2 separate regions of the Homo sapiens genome follow, and region 2 is linked to region 1. The links are contacts of gene promoters, found by promoter capture Hi-C in blood cells and fetal thymus (Javierre and others, 2016). All regions are on one chromosome and are shown on one strand. The core of a region is centred on a gene start or on the middle of the fragment in contact, and the rest is flanking DNA. Distances in the headings are between cores, read along the strand shown. Region 1 holds the start of TRAPPC6B (trafficking protein particle complex subunit 6B). Region 2 holds the start of PPM1A (protein phosphatase, Mg2+/Mn2+ dependent 1A).

What was found. The method cuts DNA at HindIII sites, captures the fragments that hold promoters and counts their contacts. A CHiCAGO score of 5 or more calls a contact.
Region 2: the fragment with the promoter of PPM1A here is called in contact with the fragment with the promoter of TRAPPC6B in region 1 in 1 of 17 cell types (non-activated CD4 T cells); the score reaches 5.2 in non-activated CD4 T cells.

What each region holds. Positions count from the first base shown.
Region 1 is chr14:39,166,903-39,174,180 of GRCh38, forward strand. TRAPPC6B (trafficking protein particle complex subunit 6B) reads right to left here and starts at 3,431. Exons shown (of 6, transcript NM_001079537.2): 1 at 3,113-3,431. The coding sequence starts at 3,193. RefSeq lists enhancers at 2,889-3,478, 3,238-3,287, 4,069-4,658. The HindIII fragment of the contact is 6,900 bases long and covers 3,212-7,278 here.
Region 2 is chr14:60,243,679-60,251,490 of GRCh38, forward strand. PPM1A (protein phosphatase, Mg2+/Mn2+ dependent 1A) reads left to right here and starts at 5,543. Exons shown (of 6, transcript NM_021003.5): 1 at 5,543-5,999. It overlaps LOC101927702 (a long non-coding RNA gene), which reads right to left and starts at 1,958. Exons shown (of 3, transcript NR_188027.1): 1 at 1,867-1,958. RefSeq lists enhancers at 4,097-4,346, 4,889-5,617, 4,927-4,976, 5,037-5,386 and silencers at 5,487-5,586, 5,787-6,526. The HindIII fragment of the contact is 6,782 bases long and covers 2,644-7,812 here.

The DNA of each region.
Region 1 (7,278 bases), core at 2,181-4,680:
CATGTTTGGGGAGGCTGATTTGAGCAATAATAAAACTCTGCTCTCCCATTTAGCAGCTCTACATAAACTCCTTATTGCAATTCTCCTGTCTTGATAGATCAGCTCTACCTGGGCAGTGGGGAAGAAGAACCCACTGGGCAGTTACAATATGCTTATATGCAGACACTTTCAAATCCTATGATCACATGAGCTTTTGAATTAAGCCCTACTACTTAATTTTGCTACTTGTTCATGCACTTTTGAGTAGGCACCAAATTTTTAAGAAAAATTCAACTTGAGAACATTTTATCCATTAGCCTTTCAAAATCCATTCACCATAAATTGAGAAATGCCCAATTAGTCCATTTTAAGAGAATTCCTCTTTAAGCATAGTTTGAAAAACCTTGATTTGGAGGGTTAGAACACTGTTTCTTTCTTTTATCTCACCTCAAGTCTTATGGAAGTTTATTTTGCTATACTGAAAATTTATAAAACTTTATTTCATTTAAAAAAACTTTCCATAACAAAAACAAAAAAAAAGACACATAATCCTGTCAGCGAGAAATGGATTTTATAGGTCTTTTCAGACATAAACAACATAGTTTTTACAGATCTTTTTATGTCTGAAAAAAATCTCTAAAAATCACCTCTGGATGACAGGATTATGTATCTTTTACATTTTTCATGATGAAAAATTTCAAGCACACTCAAAGTATGGACACTAATGTGAACCCTTATATACCCGTATTTCAGTATGGGTTCTGATTATGAAGACTACCACATAACTGTTATTTATATAATTTTTGCTTATTATGTACTTTCAATTTTCCCCCCCATCATAAATACACTGCAGTAGAAAAAGAAAGTTATTTTTAGCTTAAATGATTCAAAACTATGAACTTCCTTTCTCTTGTATGTTAGTCCATCTCTTAAAATTATCAGGCCTGAGTAGAACAGCTCTGTTCATTTTATTTAGGATTAACCCACGGGAAAAAAAAAAGATATTTTAAAAAGAAGAAAAAATATTATTCTAGACAAGAGTCAGAAAAGGGCCAGGCGCAGTGGCTTACGCTTGTAATCCCAGCACTTTGGGAGGCCAAGGCGGGCAGATCACCTGAGGTCAGAAGTTCAAGAACAGCCTGGTCAACAGGGTGAAACTCCGTCTCTACTAAAAATACAAAAAAATTAGTCAGGCATGGTGGCCGGCACCTGTAATTCCAGATACTCAGGAGGCTGAAGCAGGAGAATCGCTTGAACCCAAGAGGCGGAGGCTGCAGTGAGCTGAGATCACACCACTGCACTCCAGCCTGGGAGACAAGAACAAAACTCCATCTAAAAAAAAAAAAAAAGAGAGAGAGAGAAGAGGAAAGGTAAGAAGGGAGGGGAGAATGAAGAGAACTGAATACGCAAGTGGTTTGGGGGGATCGGGGGTTATGACAAAAAAGTAAAAGGGGTGTGTTAACTGTTCTAGAGGGAAAAGGAAGGCTAGCTTTGCACAAACAGTAAACCTTGAGGTCAATAATAAAGTCAGAAGTTTGTGACTTGAAAAAAATCTCTATTATAGATGGGTCATTTGAATAAGAATAGAATTCGCTTCATTTCCAATAACCTTCCAAATGTATCCTGCCTATCCTTCTTGTGCAAACTGGCAGTACCTTTTTTTGGATGTCATACAGGCACCTCAAAAGTTCAACCTGCCCCGAAATAACTCATTATCTTACCTCCTTATTTTTTTCTTCTCCTTTATTTCCTTTTCTGATTAATAGTACCACCATCCAACCCAGCTGCTCAAGCTGAAAACCTGACGATAATTTTCAACTCCCACTCCCATCCTTAAACAAGGCCTACAGAATTCCACTTTCTAACTTTCAAATCTGTTATCTCCTTTTCTCACTATCCCTGTCTTAATCCAGATCTTCATCTCCTCCTGCAGTGACTCCCGTAATAAAGGATTTTCCCCCTACAAGGATCTTCCCTCTCTAGCCCAAACACTGGATTACTTTTCTAAAATGCAAATGGTCCACATCATTCCCTTCCTTAAAAATATTCCCTCGAAAAGATCCGAATTCTTTAATTACACAAAGCTTTCTAACTTCACCTCTCAATTCTTCTCACTCTCTATTCAGTCTAGTCCAAAGAAATGCTTAAGTGTATTTAAATCCACCACTCTTTCATACCTCTACCACTTTATCTTTGCCTAGGATACATTTCCTATCCCCACTCTCCACTCATTTTTTATCAATAGCATTAAAGAAAGGGCTCCTGACTTGAGCATGACTTTGGAGTATTTCTAAAATCCGTTACAACTCCATGATTCTACCAGCCAATACTCAGTGTTAACTATTCATTAAATCACTATTCCCTAAATACTGTGAGGCAGGAGTATTATTTTATTTAATTTATCTAGCAGTGTCAGCAGTGACAGGCCCACAATGATTGAATAAGGACTCCCACATATTAGAAGTAACCGCTACATACTATCACATTTCGGATTAAATTAGATTAAAAAAAAATCTCTACAAGGATGGGGCCATTGTTTCATTCACTACTATATCCCTGGCACCTAGAAATCGCTCTGACATAAGGGCACTAAATAAATACTTTCTGAAATAATTAATTTAAATTATGTTCCCTAATTATCCTAACGCCTGCAAACTTTCCTTTGCAAACTCAACCTTCATTAGGCTTCAGGTCTCAAGTTGTGTGGAGTTGTACTGAGCATTAGGAATGAGGAAGGAGGGACAGGCTTCTCAGGTTGGCACAGGTCTGTCCAGTGCATGGCTCAAGTGCTGGAAGTGCCAGCAAAACTAAGTAGGCTCTGCAGTTAACCCTCTCGTAAATAATGGCAGGGACAACACTAAAAGTACCAAAATCTGTGGCGTGCAAGACAAACGTACGGGAATAGACAAAAGAGAATCAAATAGAAGAAGATACGAAAGAGAAAACGATGAAAGATGACGGTTCAAAGGAGACAACTGACAGGTTCTAGGGTTTAGGACACCTGGAGGTGGACCATTTTGTGTACACCTCGGGAGGCGTCGGGTGGCGATGGGACAGGGGTTGAAGGAAAGCACTGAGGGGAAACAAGGTGTGTCACCGCAAAAGGACCTCAAGGTTGTGTGGCAGCACTCACCACCTCCCCCTGCTCCGCGGACTTGTACACTCCAGACACCATCTCGTTATGGAGAAGCAAAAACAACGCCTCATCCGCCATTTCCTGCTAATTCTTCCAAGCTTCGAGTTTTGGCTCCCGTTTGAGCTGGTCTGGGGGTTCCAGCTCGCGCCTCAGCGACTTCGCCGGCGCCGCGGCTCCGTCAGGCCGCCATTCTATCCCTGTGGCTAAGAGACCGAGGTATTCACACGACTTCCCAAAGGCTGGTACTGAAATGAGTCTGGTACTGGAGAGAGCCCACACTTCGGGGCTACCAAATCCTAGGGCCGAACTAAAGTCTGACGGGAGCTCTAACCAAAGCCAACCAGCTGAGATGCGATCCGGCCGCTGGGCGGGGGCGAAAAAAACAACTTCCGGTCCCCTCTACCCCGGCATTCGGCCAGCTCTATGATCACTGAGTTCCTCTCTCCCAAGCCCGGAGAGGCCAGCGCCCAGATATGAGGAAGGTTCCCCTCTCACCACGATGTCGGGGGCAGAGCAAGATAAAATAAGACCTAAAGCTCCCGCCTGGCCCGGGCGCGGTGGCTCACGCCTGTAATCCCAGCACTTTGGGTGGCGGAGGCGGGTGGATCACATGAGGTCGGAAGTTCGAACCAGCCTGAGAAACCCCGTCTCTACTATAAGTACAAAATTAGCGGGGCCTGGTGGTGCATGCCTGTAATCCCAGCTACTCGGGAGTCTGAGGCAGGAGAATCGCTTGAACTCGGGAGGCGGAGGTTGCGGTGAGCTGAGATCGCGCCACTGCACTCCAGCCTGGGCAACAAGAGTGAAACTCCGTCTCAAAAAAAAAAAAAAAAAAAGAGCTCCCGCGGCCACCTCCTTGTTAATTAGCAATAGAAGTTAAAAAAATTCTTTTGGCTTCATCAAAAGCATCCACTTCCTGCCATATGTTCTTCAAATATGAAAAGTTGTAGAAAGAGTTTAAAATATACGTTTTCACAGTGCAAATTTTTTAAATATTGAAAAGTTATCCCAATTCCTATTGAATTAAGCCCGGGTATACAAAAAGAATTAGAGCCATTTTGACCACCAGGAATTTTCCTGTTAGTGGGGTGCAAGGGACAAGGGAAGTGGAGCAAACGAAAAACAAGATACACTTGAACCGGAAAATACAGACTAATCAGAGGATTAGGTGAAAAGTGCTATAGAATTCAGAAAAGCGATGTCACTGCAGGATGGAGTTGCTAATAATCTACAGCAGTGTGAGACAACTGTAGGAATTGTCCCACTGCATGTGCAAATAAATACACATGCTACATCATAGTATGTACATCTTAAATTTGGCAAATTCAACCGTAAGCATGTTGCTTAGCCTGTGATTAGTTCTTCCATTGGTAATTCACAAAACAAAATTTTTCCCCAATTGTCCCTGTTGTTTTCCCCCAAATTAACATACCGCAAGGTGGCTCATGCCTGTAAAATCCAGCACTTTGGGAGGCCGAGGCACGGGGGGTGGGGGGGATCACGAGGTCATGAGTTTTGAGAGCAGCCTGGCCAACATGGTGAAAACCCGTCTCCACTAAAAATACAAAAATTAGCCGGGCGTGGTGACAGGTGCCTGTAATCCCAGCTACTCGGGGGGCTGAGGCAGGAGAATCACTTGAACCTGGGAGGCAGAGGTTGCAGCGAGCAGAAATTGTGCCACTGCACTCCAGCCTGGGCGACAGAGCAAGACTTCGTCTCAAAAAACGAAACACACACACAAACTCTTCATGCCCTTTCACAGGAATTTAAGATCATGTTCCAAAATTTTAATTGTGGTAGGTTTTTTTTTTAAGCATGTCCCTTCTAATGTTTGAATCAGTTTATTCCATTCATCACGTAAATCCAGCATAAAAGCTCCACTTAAGCCTTTGAAAACACTAAATTGTGTAATTTTGAAGAGTATTTTGCCATGGTAATCTTAATTTTTCCAGCACTAAATTTTCAGTTATGCGAAATCAGGTCCTTTATGTCTAGATGACATTCTTGCCCTCATCACTACCATCAAGAAAAAGGAGTCCAAGTCCACCACACAAGTCAAAAAGTAAGTAAATGGCCAATTTATCAAAGTTGACTTCTCCAACCACAATAACATGAGGCTTTTAAAGTACGTTTCTGGATAGAAAGGAAACTTATTTAATGAGGACCTACTAACTATTGAACACAGCATCCTACTTATCCTTCTCCATAAAGTTAAATTGCCAAGGCTCCTAGGAATAGATCCTATGGAAGCAAGGACAGTGAGTGTGGTGTGTGTGTGTGTGTGTTTTGAGACAGAGTTTTGCTCTTGTTGCCCAGGCTGGAGTGCAATGGCACTATCTCAGCTCACTGCAACCCCGCCTCCCGGGTTCAAGTGATTCTCCTGCCTCAGCTTCCCGAGTAGGTGGGATTACAGGCATGCACCACCAAGCCCAGCTCATTTTGTATTTTTAGTAGAGACGGGGTTTCTCCATGTTGGTCAGGCTGATCTCGAACTCGTGACCTCAGGTGATCCGCCTGCCTCGGCCTCCCAAAGTGCTGGGATTACAGACTTGAGCCACTGTGCCCAGCTGTGTGTGTTTTGTTTTGTTTGAGACAGAGTCTCACTGTTGCCCAGGCCAGAGTGCAGTGGCATGATCTTGGCTCACTGCATGCAACCTCCACCTCCCGGGCTCAAGCAATTCTGCCTCAGCCTTCCAAGCAGCTGACACTACAGGCACTTGCCACCATGCAGGACTAATTTTGTATTTTTAGTAGAGACAGGGTTTCATCATGTTGGCCAGGCTGGTCTTGAACTCCCAATCTCAAGTGATCCGCCCACCAAGGCCTCCCAAAATCCTGGGATTACCGGGCCGACCATACATGCAAACATTCTTACACTTGCTGAATACGCTCTACTATTATCACACTCTCATGCCTCAGGTACTGCCTAAGGTTGTACACAGACCTGTAATAAGATCAATGAGGCTAAGTATGCTCACAATCAGAATTAGATAATTGTCAATCTTCATCCCCATTATTCATCTCTACATTTTTTTCTCCTATAGTACTTCCCGCTTTCTAACATGCTATACTATTTATTTATTTATTTATTTATTTTTGAGACAGAGTCTCACTGCTGCCCAGGCTAGAGTGCAGTGGTGTGATGACAGCTCACTGCAGTCTCAAACTCCTGGACTCAAACAATCATCCCGCCTCAGCCTCTCCAGTACAATTTTTAAAATTTTTATTTTTAGAGACAGGATCGTTGCTATGTTGCCCAGGCTGGTCTTAACTCCTGGGCTGTAGCGATTCTCCCACCTCAGTCTCCCAAGTATCTGGGATTACAGGCACAATCCACTGGACTTGCTCAGAGATCTTTATTGTACACTGATATACCCAAGTGCCTAGAATAGCACCTGGCACATAGTGGGCCCTCAGTATTTGTTGAACTAATGAATGATCATTGCTCCTTTGGAAGCCTACAAACCCCACAGAAGCAGGAATCACAACTATCTTGTTCTAGGCTTTATTTTCAAACCCTAGCTTACTGCTGATACACAATGGAAGCTCTAAAAGATTGCTGGATTAAAGTGGTAGCTTGAGTTAATTAATACACTGGGCCCACTAATTCTTTGTACAAGGAAGATAGATGCCTGGCTGAGATTATTTAAAGCATTGTTTCTGTGGGAAAGTGTTTTGTTTTTTTGTTTGTTTGGGACGGAGTCTCACTCTGTCGCACAGGCTAGAGTGCAGTGGTGCAATCTCGGCTCACTGCAACCTCCGCATCCCGGGCTCCCGAGTAGCTGGGATTACAGGCGTACACCACCACTCCCAGCTAATTTTTGTATTTTTAGTAAAGGCGGGGTTTCCCCATGTTGGCCAGGCTGGTCTCCAACTCCTGGCCTCAAGTGATCCACCTGCCTCAGCCTCCCTAAGTGCTGGGATTACGGGCGTGAGCCACTGTGCCTGGCCTGTGAAAAAATGTTTTCTGAGCTTCAATTTGTATATATATTTATAGAACAAAACTAGTTCCTACATTGGCAGTGCAGGTAGGGCAGAACCAGAAGCGGGACAACACACACAGACACCACTAACAACAGGGCCGCTCCCTTAGGTCTGGTCTTAACCAGCTCTAGGCCAGGTGAAGAGGCTAACTCAACCATGACTGCGTGTCTGTCTCGCCA
Region 2 (7,812 bases), core at 4,293-6,792, about 21 Mb after region 1:
TGCCTCCTGGGTTCAAGCAATTCTCCTGCCTCAGCCTCCCAAGTAGCTAGGATTACAGGCTCCCGACACCACACCTGGCTAATTTTTGTATTTTTAGTAGAGACGGGGTTTCACCATGTTGGCCAGGCTGATCTCAAACTCCTGATCTCAGGTGATCCACCCACCTCAGCCTCCCAAAGTGCTGGGAATATAGGCATGAGACACTGCACCCAGCCTATATCATTTAATTTTTAATAATGAGTATTTAACAAACAGCAGGCAAAATTTCTGAAAATTTAATAATCTGCTGTCATGAGCCAGTATAGGCCAGCTCTCCACACCACGGACTGGAACTAAGTTCAGCACTCTTTCCACTCCTGCTGCCTTTACTACCAGCATGTAAAAGCAATGATGCTCAGTATCGTACGGGGGACAAACCTGGGTACCCGTCATTAATTTCTGTGACCCTGGGTAGTTACTACCAGATGCTTAGTTTTCTCTTCTATAAAGGAGGAGATTAAGAGTCCTTGCCCTGTCTACCTGCAAGGGTTTTTGAGAGGATTAAACTGGTTAGTCTGTATGATAGTGCTTTGTAAACTGCAGAGTCAGGTTCAGATAAAAGGCTTTATGATGATGACAATTTCATTACTGTTTTCAACCAGGCCACCATTGTTAAGGATGCAGTGTGTCGCTGCTTTCAAAAGTATGGTTTAGTTTGAGATCTTCTGTAATGCCCAGGATAGACAGTAAACACCCAGAAGAATTGTTCTGAAGAAGCCCACTCAAATCTGTGCTAGTCTTTACTTAGCACAAATAGGTACCTATATTGGGATGAAAACTATTTATTTGAAGCTTATAATTCACTCTTTTCTAGCTGCTGCTGGATTGTCTGACGGGTCTTTCCTGGAGTTATGGAATACTTCTCAATTTCAATAGTTGAATAAAGGTGTTTTTTTTTCTGTCATGCAGGCTAGGGTGCAGGGGCATGATCTCGGCCCACTGCAACCTCCACCTCCTGAGTTCCAGTGATTCTCCTGCCTGCGATTCTCCTGCCTCAGCTTCCCAAGTAGCTGGGATTACAGGCGTGTGCCACCAGGTGTGGCTAATTTTGTATTTTCAGTAGAGACGGGGTTTCCCCATGTTGGCCAGGCTGGTCTTGAACTCCTGGCCTCAAGTGATCCACTCGCTTTGGCCTTCCAAAGTGCTGGGATTACAGGTGTGAGCCACTGCACCCAGACTATTTTTAATTTCAATTTTTAAAAAAGTTGCTTTGCTTTTTGCACCAGACCAACTCACCAAGTTATTTTCTATGGATTATACCCGTGCACATAATGTAGTTTCCTGATTATAAATTAAATATCCCTAATGTCCACGTTGAAACACTCTCGAAACTTAAATGACCATAAACTATTTGCCTTGAGTTTGCTGAACTTGTCTTTGGGCTGTAAGAAACTCTTTTCTGCCAAGCTCTTTTCCACATCAGGCCCTTTGCCCATGCTGACCCCTCTACCTGGAAAGTTCTCCCCTGATTATGAAGCTGACTCCTTCTCATCCTTTAGATCAAATGCTGCCTTCTTAGAGAGGTCTGCACTGAACACCTGTTTCAAGTCGTCTCCCGGATCTGTTTCCTTATTTATTTTCTTCACAGCATGGATAACAGTATGCAATTTCCTTTCTATCTGCTGACTTATTTGTCTATGCCTCTTATTATTATGTTGGCTCTTTGTGGGCAGGGCTTGCCCATTGATGTCATTATCTACCTCCAGTGTCCCACACAGTGCTTGGTGCACAATAGCTATCTCATGAACAGATGAACTTATCTGACAAGATCCACTCTAGTATTGTAAGGCTGTGGCCATATATGGCTATCTTGAGGTGAAAGCCTACCCTAAAGACTGTCCAGGACTTGGCCTCTGGTGCTCACAGTTGCCCAGGTTTCTCTCAGGTCGCAGGATGAGCCACAGTGGTAGCATAAGACTGCTGGCTGCTCCCCTCTGCCCCTCCCTAATGGGGCTGCCCAGTGATGTCACACAGGACAGGATTCTCTAATCCTTTTGATTCTGTAACAGTCCTCTAAGCAGCTAAGTTTCTCATAATGTATTATGATGTAGGGGAGGGAGGAAGGAGGGCCAGGGTAGGGGGCACACCCTCTCCCTGAATGAAATTCATTTAGGGGCACTGTCTGCTCGCATGTTCTGTTCTGGGAGAAAATGGGTAGCAGAAGCTACAATTTGTACTAAGCTAATGAAAAGAGAGAAAAGAAGAATGGGGAAGAGAAGGGCAAAGAAGGCAAAAAGAGAAGAGAAGAAAAAGGGAGGAGAGAGAAGGAGAAATGAGAAAAGAGGAAACCAAATGAAGAGGATGTGTGAGAGAAAAAAATATGAAACAGGTAGTGAGGGAGGAAGGAATTGTTGAACCTATGTTCTGGTTGGCTTTCTAACTCTTGAGTAGTGACTGGCTTCAGTGGAAAAGGATGGTGAGGGGTATTCTCAAATACTAGCCTCCTGAGGGGGTCATTTACATTACTGCATATATTTTGAGAGGCCCAGGCAAGTCTGCCTCAAGGGTGACTCTCCTGGAGAGTAATTTGGGAGCAGGAATGTAAACCTTTTTTTAAGTCACAATTGTGGTGGAAAGGGAAAGAGAGTATTGCTGATCAGATTAAGCTTTAGACTCCACACTACAGCCCCTGTCCTCACCCCAAGCCTCCCAATTACTAGGCTATCAACACACACTAAATTCAGGACTTTAAAGCCAATCTTGTAGATAATCTTTTTCTTTGTTAATTGAAATATAAACAGATTTCCAAAGCAGAGCAGGATAGTTTTATAATATACCTATAAAAATTACTAAAATGTCATCATCATGGCAATATATTCCCACTAAAATCTTACTGTGAACATCCCAAATATGTGTAGAGGCCCGGCAAAGTCTTACAGTTCAGAAGAGAACTTTCAATCCTCTTTTTTCAATGTTATTTTCCCCTTCTATCTGTCCCCCCTTCTTAGCATAAGGTTTAATAAAAGGGGATATGATGATATTAAACATATTTAATCAGACAATATTGATATCTTTTTAAAATATTAATCTTATAACCCATGAGTTTCCTAGTTCATACCAAAATGTCCCTGCAAGCTGTATTCAGAAATAAATAGTAGGAAGGTGCTGCTTTATCGGCAGTCTGTACAATGCGTAGACTCCTTAAAAATTTCTTTCTGTTCATATTTTCTATTTCTCTCCCTCTTCTTCTACAATTGACCCAGATTCTCCAAGTGCAGAACAGAGAGAAGAAAGGTGTGGAAGCCTAAAGGAAGGAAGCAGAAAGATAGGCAGGCATTTCAAGTTTTCTATGGTCCACTACCGTCACTAGTGACCCAGCTTCTGCTTATAAATAAGAAAATTTGTCTTTTAAGAGCACTCTAAATGGTTGCCATATGAGCTTTTGTAGTTCAGAATGTTAATGAGTCCACCAGCATGCTACTCATGCTGTTACTTGCCTGGAGTATTAAGGATTCCAAGAAGGTAGCGTTTCAAAGATCTCTGATCTAATTTCTTTTTTTGGGGGGTCGGGGAGATATGTGGAGAATTAGGAAATGTATCCTCAGATGATACTGAGACCAAATGCATAGTGAATTTTATTTTTATTTTGTATATGTGGAAATGATCCACGATCATCTTCTAAGGAATTCTGGCCGGGAACAGTGGCTCACGACTGTAATCCCAGCACTTTGGGAGGCCGAGGAGGGTGGATCACGAGGTCAGGAAACCGAGACCATCCTGGCCAACACGGTGAAACCCTGTCTGAACTAAAAATACAAAAAAATTAGCCAGGCGTGGTGGCAGGCGCCTGTAGTCCCAGCTACTCGGGAGGCTGAGGCAGGAGAATGGCATGAACCCGGGAGGCGGAGCTTGCAGTGAGCCGAGATTGTGCCACTGTACTAGCCTGGATGAAAGAGCGAGACTCTGTCTCAAAAAAAAAAAAAAAAAAAAAAAAAAAAGTGAAGGAAACAGAACCTTCCCCAAAGTCATGTTGAGAAAATTAGAGATGGCTTTTTACAACTTTAAAAGCAGCAGCTAAATATTTGCTGAATGCCAGAAAGAATAAATAGGTTGCTTTTGATCTAAGAGTTGGGGCAACAAAATGGTTTAGGAGATAGAAAGTAGTAGGGTGCAAATTGCTATAGTGAGCTCCTCAAGTAAAATAGAGAGGCCTTCAACATAAATTTACCTTTTTTACTGGCCAGAACTCAATTTGGCCAGTAAAAGAACCTGCCTTCTACAATGAAGTCTTTGGTTTGTGTGTGCATCAGAACATCTTTTAAAAATACGGACTTTTCTTCTAACTTCTTTTCCTGCGAATGTGGTGTAGGTCAAATTCGTGAACTGGTTAAGCCGCTGACAAGAGAGGGAAGGGCACCCCAGCCAATGGGAACCCGTGCTGGTGATGTACTGCTCCTAGGCTGCGATTCATTGGCTGCCTAGGGTTTGTCATTCTATCCCCGGCGTCTGCAAGCAGCGTGGGTCGGGTTTTCCAGCTAGCTAAACTGGATTTTGGCCGCTGGCACGTGCAGTTTCTATTAACTTTAGCTCATCTCTACCTCTTAATAGAAGCAGCTGTTATGTTTCTGATTATTCTCCTGATTTTGAAAAATCCTGTTCCCTTAACCTACCTCATTGGAGGTCGTTGGAGGTCCCCTGGGACAGAACCACGTGATTATCTAACATGTGCAAATAAATACAATGTGGAATCCCCTGAACTATAGAGGGAAAACCTGCCAGAAACTCAGAGCATGTGCCCCGTGCGTGAATCAGTTGCACTCGCACATTGGTGGGCGGTGGTAGCGTGCTTGTGTCTCTGCCCTTTGGGTCGCGAGGTGTGTGGCCGTGGCACCTGCTTGGGCTTCCTGGGGTCACTGGGAGAGGAAGGCTCTGGAGGAGTGGGACTCTGGGGTAGGGGGGTCTGGCAGCTGCCTGGGACCCACCATGGGTTCGAAGGGCAGCGGCCAGACCGCGACGGCGCCCAAGAAGGGTGGACAGCTTCGGGTCTGTGCTCGGGGCTGCGTGTACACCATCTTCGCAGGGAGTGGGGTTTGTATCTGCAGGCAGGTAGAAGAGCCAGGGCTCCGGGCGCGGACGCCGTAGGGGTAGCTTCCGAGTCCCTACTTGGCCAAGGGCCGGCACGGAGGGGCTGTCGATCTACTGGGCACCTAATAGCCGCACATTCTGTCCAGTCCCTGGCGCCGGAACGTGAAGGCCCGGGTCCTGGCTGCTATCCGGGATCCGGACGCTCCCTTCGGCTTCGGCCTGGTGCTCCAGGCCGTAAGGCAAAGGCGGCGGCAGCAGCAGCGGCAGAGAAAGAAGCTGGGTAAGGCAGTGACGTCATCTGTGGCGGCCCCTCCCCCGCCCGCCAGCCCTCACCGCAGTTCCTGCCCAACGACATCCGGGTCTCTGTAGCTGCGCGCCGCGCCGCAGCTGTAGCGGCGGCGGAGCCAGCGGGGCGGGGCGAGCGGAGGGGTGGGGGAGGGGCGACGCGGTCGTGAGCGCGCCTGCGCGGGGCCGCGCTAGAGGCGGCGGCGGCGGCGGTGGCGGCGCTAGGGACGGGAGCGCGCGCGGGAGCTAGAGAGCAGTGGTCTCGGCGCTCGTCCGGCCCGCAGCTTCGGGTCCTCAGGCGGCTGTTGCTCCGGAACGGGTGGTTGGGGAGGGGGGGGTGGGGGGACTCTAGACAGCTGAGGCGCGAAAGCGATGAGTCCTCGGCTCTTCCTCCTCCTTCTCCGGGACCCGCTCTCTGCCTCCCTCTCCAACGCCCGGATGATCTGAGCCGCGAGGGCGCCGACAGCCGGGGGCCCGGACGCAGCCCGGCTCCTCCCCTCCTCCGCCCCTTCCCCAGCCTGACCTGGCCCGCCGCTGCAGCGGTGACCCCTCCCCCGGCTGCCGCCGTCGCCGCCGCGGTGACCCCCTCCCCGGCTGCCGCCGCCGCCGCCTCGGCCGACCAGGGACCTGCCCGCCTGCGGCTGCTCCGGGTAAGTGCGGCGCTCGGGCCGACGGCGGGCTGGCGGGCGGTGCGGGCCTGCGCGGCGGCGGCGGCGGGCAGGCCTGGGGCCTGTAAACAAGCCGGGCGTCTGCCCGGGCGCTCCCGGGAGGAGACGCGACAACTCCACCCCCTGGCCGGCCTCCTCCCCCGAGCCGGGCGGCGGACGGCGAGGGGTTAACGCTCGGCGAGGGCGGTGGCGGGGAGGCGGGGGCGGGGTGTTAGTTGCGGTGGCGCGGGGAGGGGGCGCGACCCTCTGGCCGTCCGCGGCCGAGATGGGTGTTTGTGGCGGCGAAGCAGGCGACGGCCGCAGGCCGGCCTGGCCGGAGAGCGGCCTGCAGAACTTTTCCCGAGCGGGGAGGGGGCGTCCCCGCGCCCCCACCCGCTCGGGCGCGCCGCCCCGGCTGTCCTGGGCTTCAGCCCCTGGGAGGGAGGCGGGGAGACTTCCTTTGAACCGGGCTTAGCCTCGAAAAACCTAATTCTGTAGAAATTGCTTAAGGTTTTACAGGGGGCAGGGCTGAGAGACTCCTTCAGAACTCAAGTCAGTGAGTGATGCCTCTAGTTCATTCATTATTAAGGCATCGAACAAATCCATTGAAGTAAATTCCGATTTCTTATCCTTTTAACTACGTAAATCGGGTAAAACTTCTTGATGTTAGAGCTTGGTTGAGGTATGGTTCTGTTCTGCTTGTAGATTTTAAATAAACTTGGAGCCTTTTCTTGAAAGACAGCTGGCTGTGGAGAGCCTTCTACCAACTGCAGTTTTAGATACGTTTTGAAAATTTCATCACCTGAGGTATTTTTCTTCTCTCCTGAAACACCACATGGTACAAATCCACAAAAGTCATGCTTCAGTTGTCCAAGCCATGGGATCTGTGTGCTAGCCCCACCTCCCCGCAAGTTTCCTGCTCATTGGAATAATGAGCTGAATGTGTTTTAAGAAGTGGTTGGAAGAGTATGAGAGATAGGTATCATTTTCTCAAAGGAAATGATTTTGACATTATTGAGAGAAATTAGACATTTTAACAATTGTTTTGTAAAACAGTCTTTTCAAACTTGCACGTTGGGGTTTTAAACACAACCACTTTACATGTGTTGCGCTCCGAAAAGTGGAGGGATTTGTTGAAACACTACTCTGCTGAGACTTAGGGTTCCAGAGCACTTGGGAATTTAGCATAGCTTGGTCCCCAACTCTCTTTGAAACACTTTACTTTTATACTTTTATCTTGCTACATATTGGGCCTTTTCCAAAGATTGTATTTCTGTAACTCCTTATTTTACAAATGAGAAAATTGAAAATAAGGAGATTCTCTATTCTTAGATGCTGCTTTTACTGACTTAATGCTTTCTTTACCAATAAATAATTTGAAGCACAAAGTAACATTTCCTAGTGTTATAGTTTTGTTCTTGTTATGTGTAACTTATATGTATCTGATTAAACTTTCAGTCATGTAAGGATGATTACTTTTAACCTGGAAGTTTACAGCAGTACCACATTATTGAAACTATAATGAACTTCCTGCACATGGCAGTTGCCTAAGACATTTTAATTTGATATCATAAAACATTTTTAGATCGGTGAAGTAATTATATTATGGGAAAGGTGTATTAAGACTGATAATGTTTGAAGTTAACTACCTCAATTATATTTGAGAAATAATAGTCATCAAATTGCTTTTTATTTGGCTTGTATCTTTTTATGTATTTTGTGTACATATTGTATCTTTTTACATGAGGGGCTGAGGTATATGACCTGTTGAAGGGAACAGTGCAGTAGGAGACAAGGATTGTTTAGTCATGGCTGT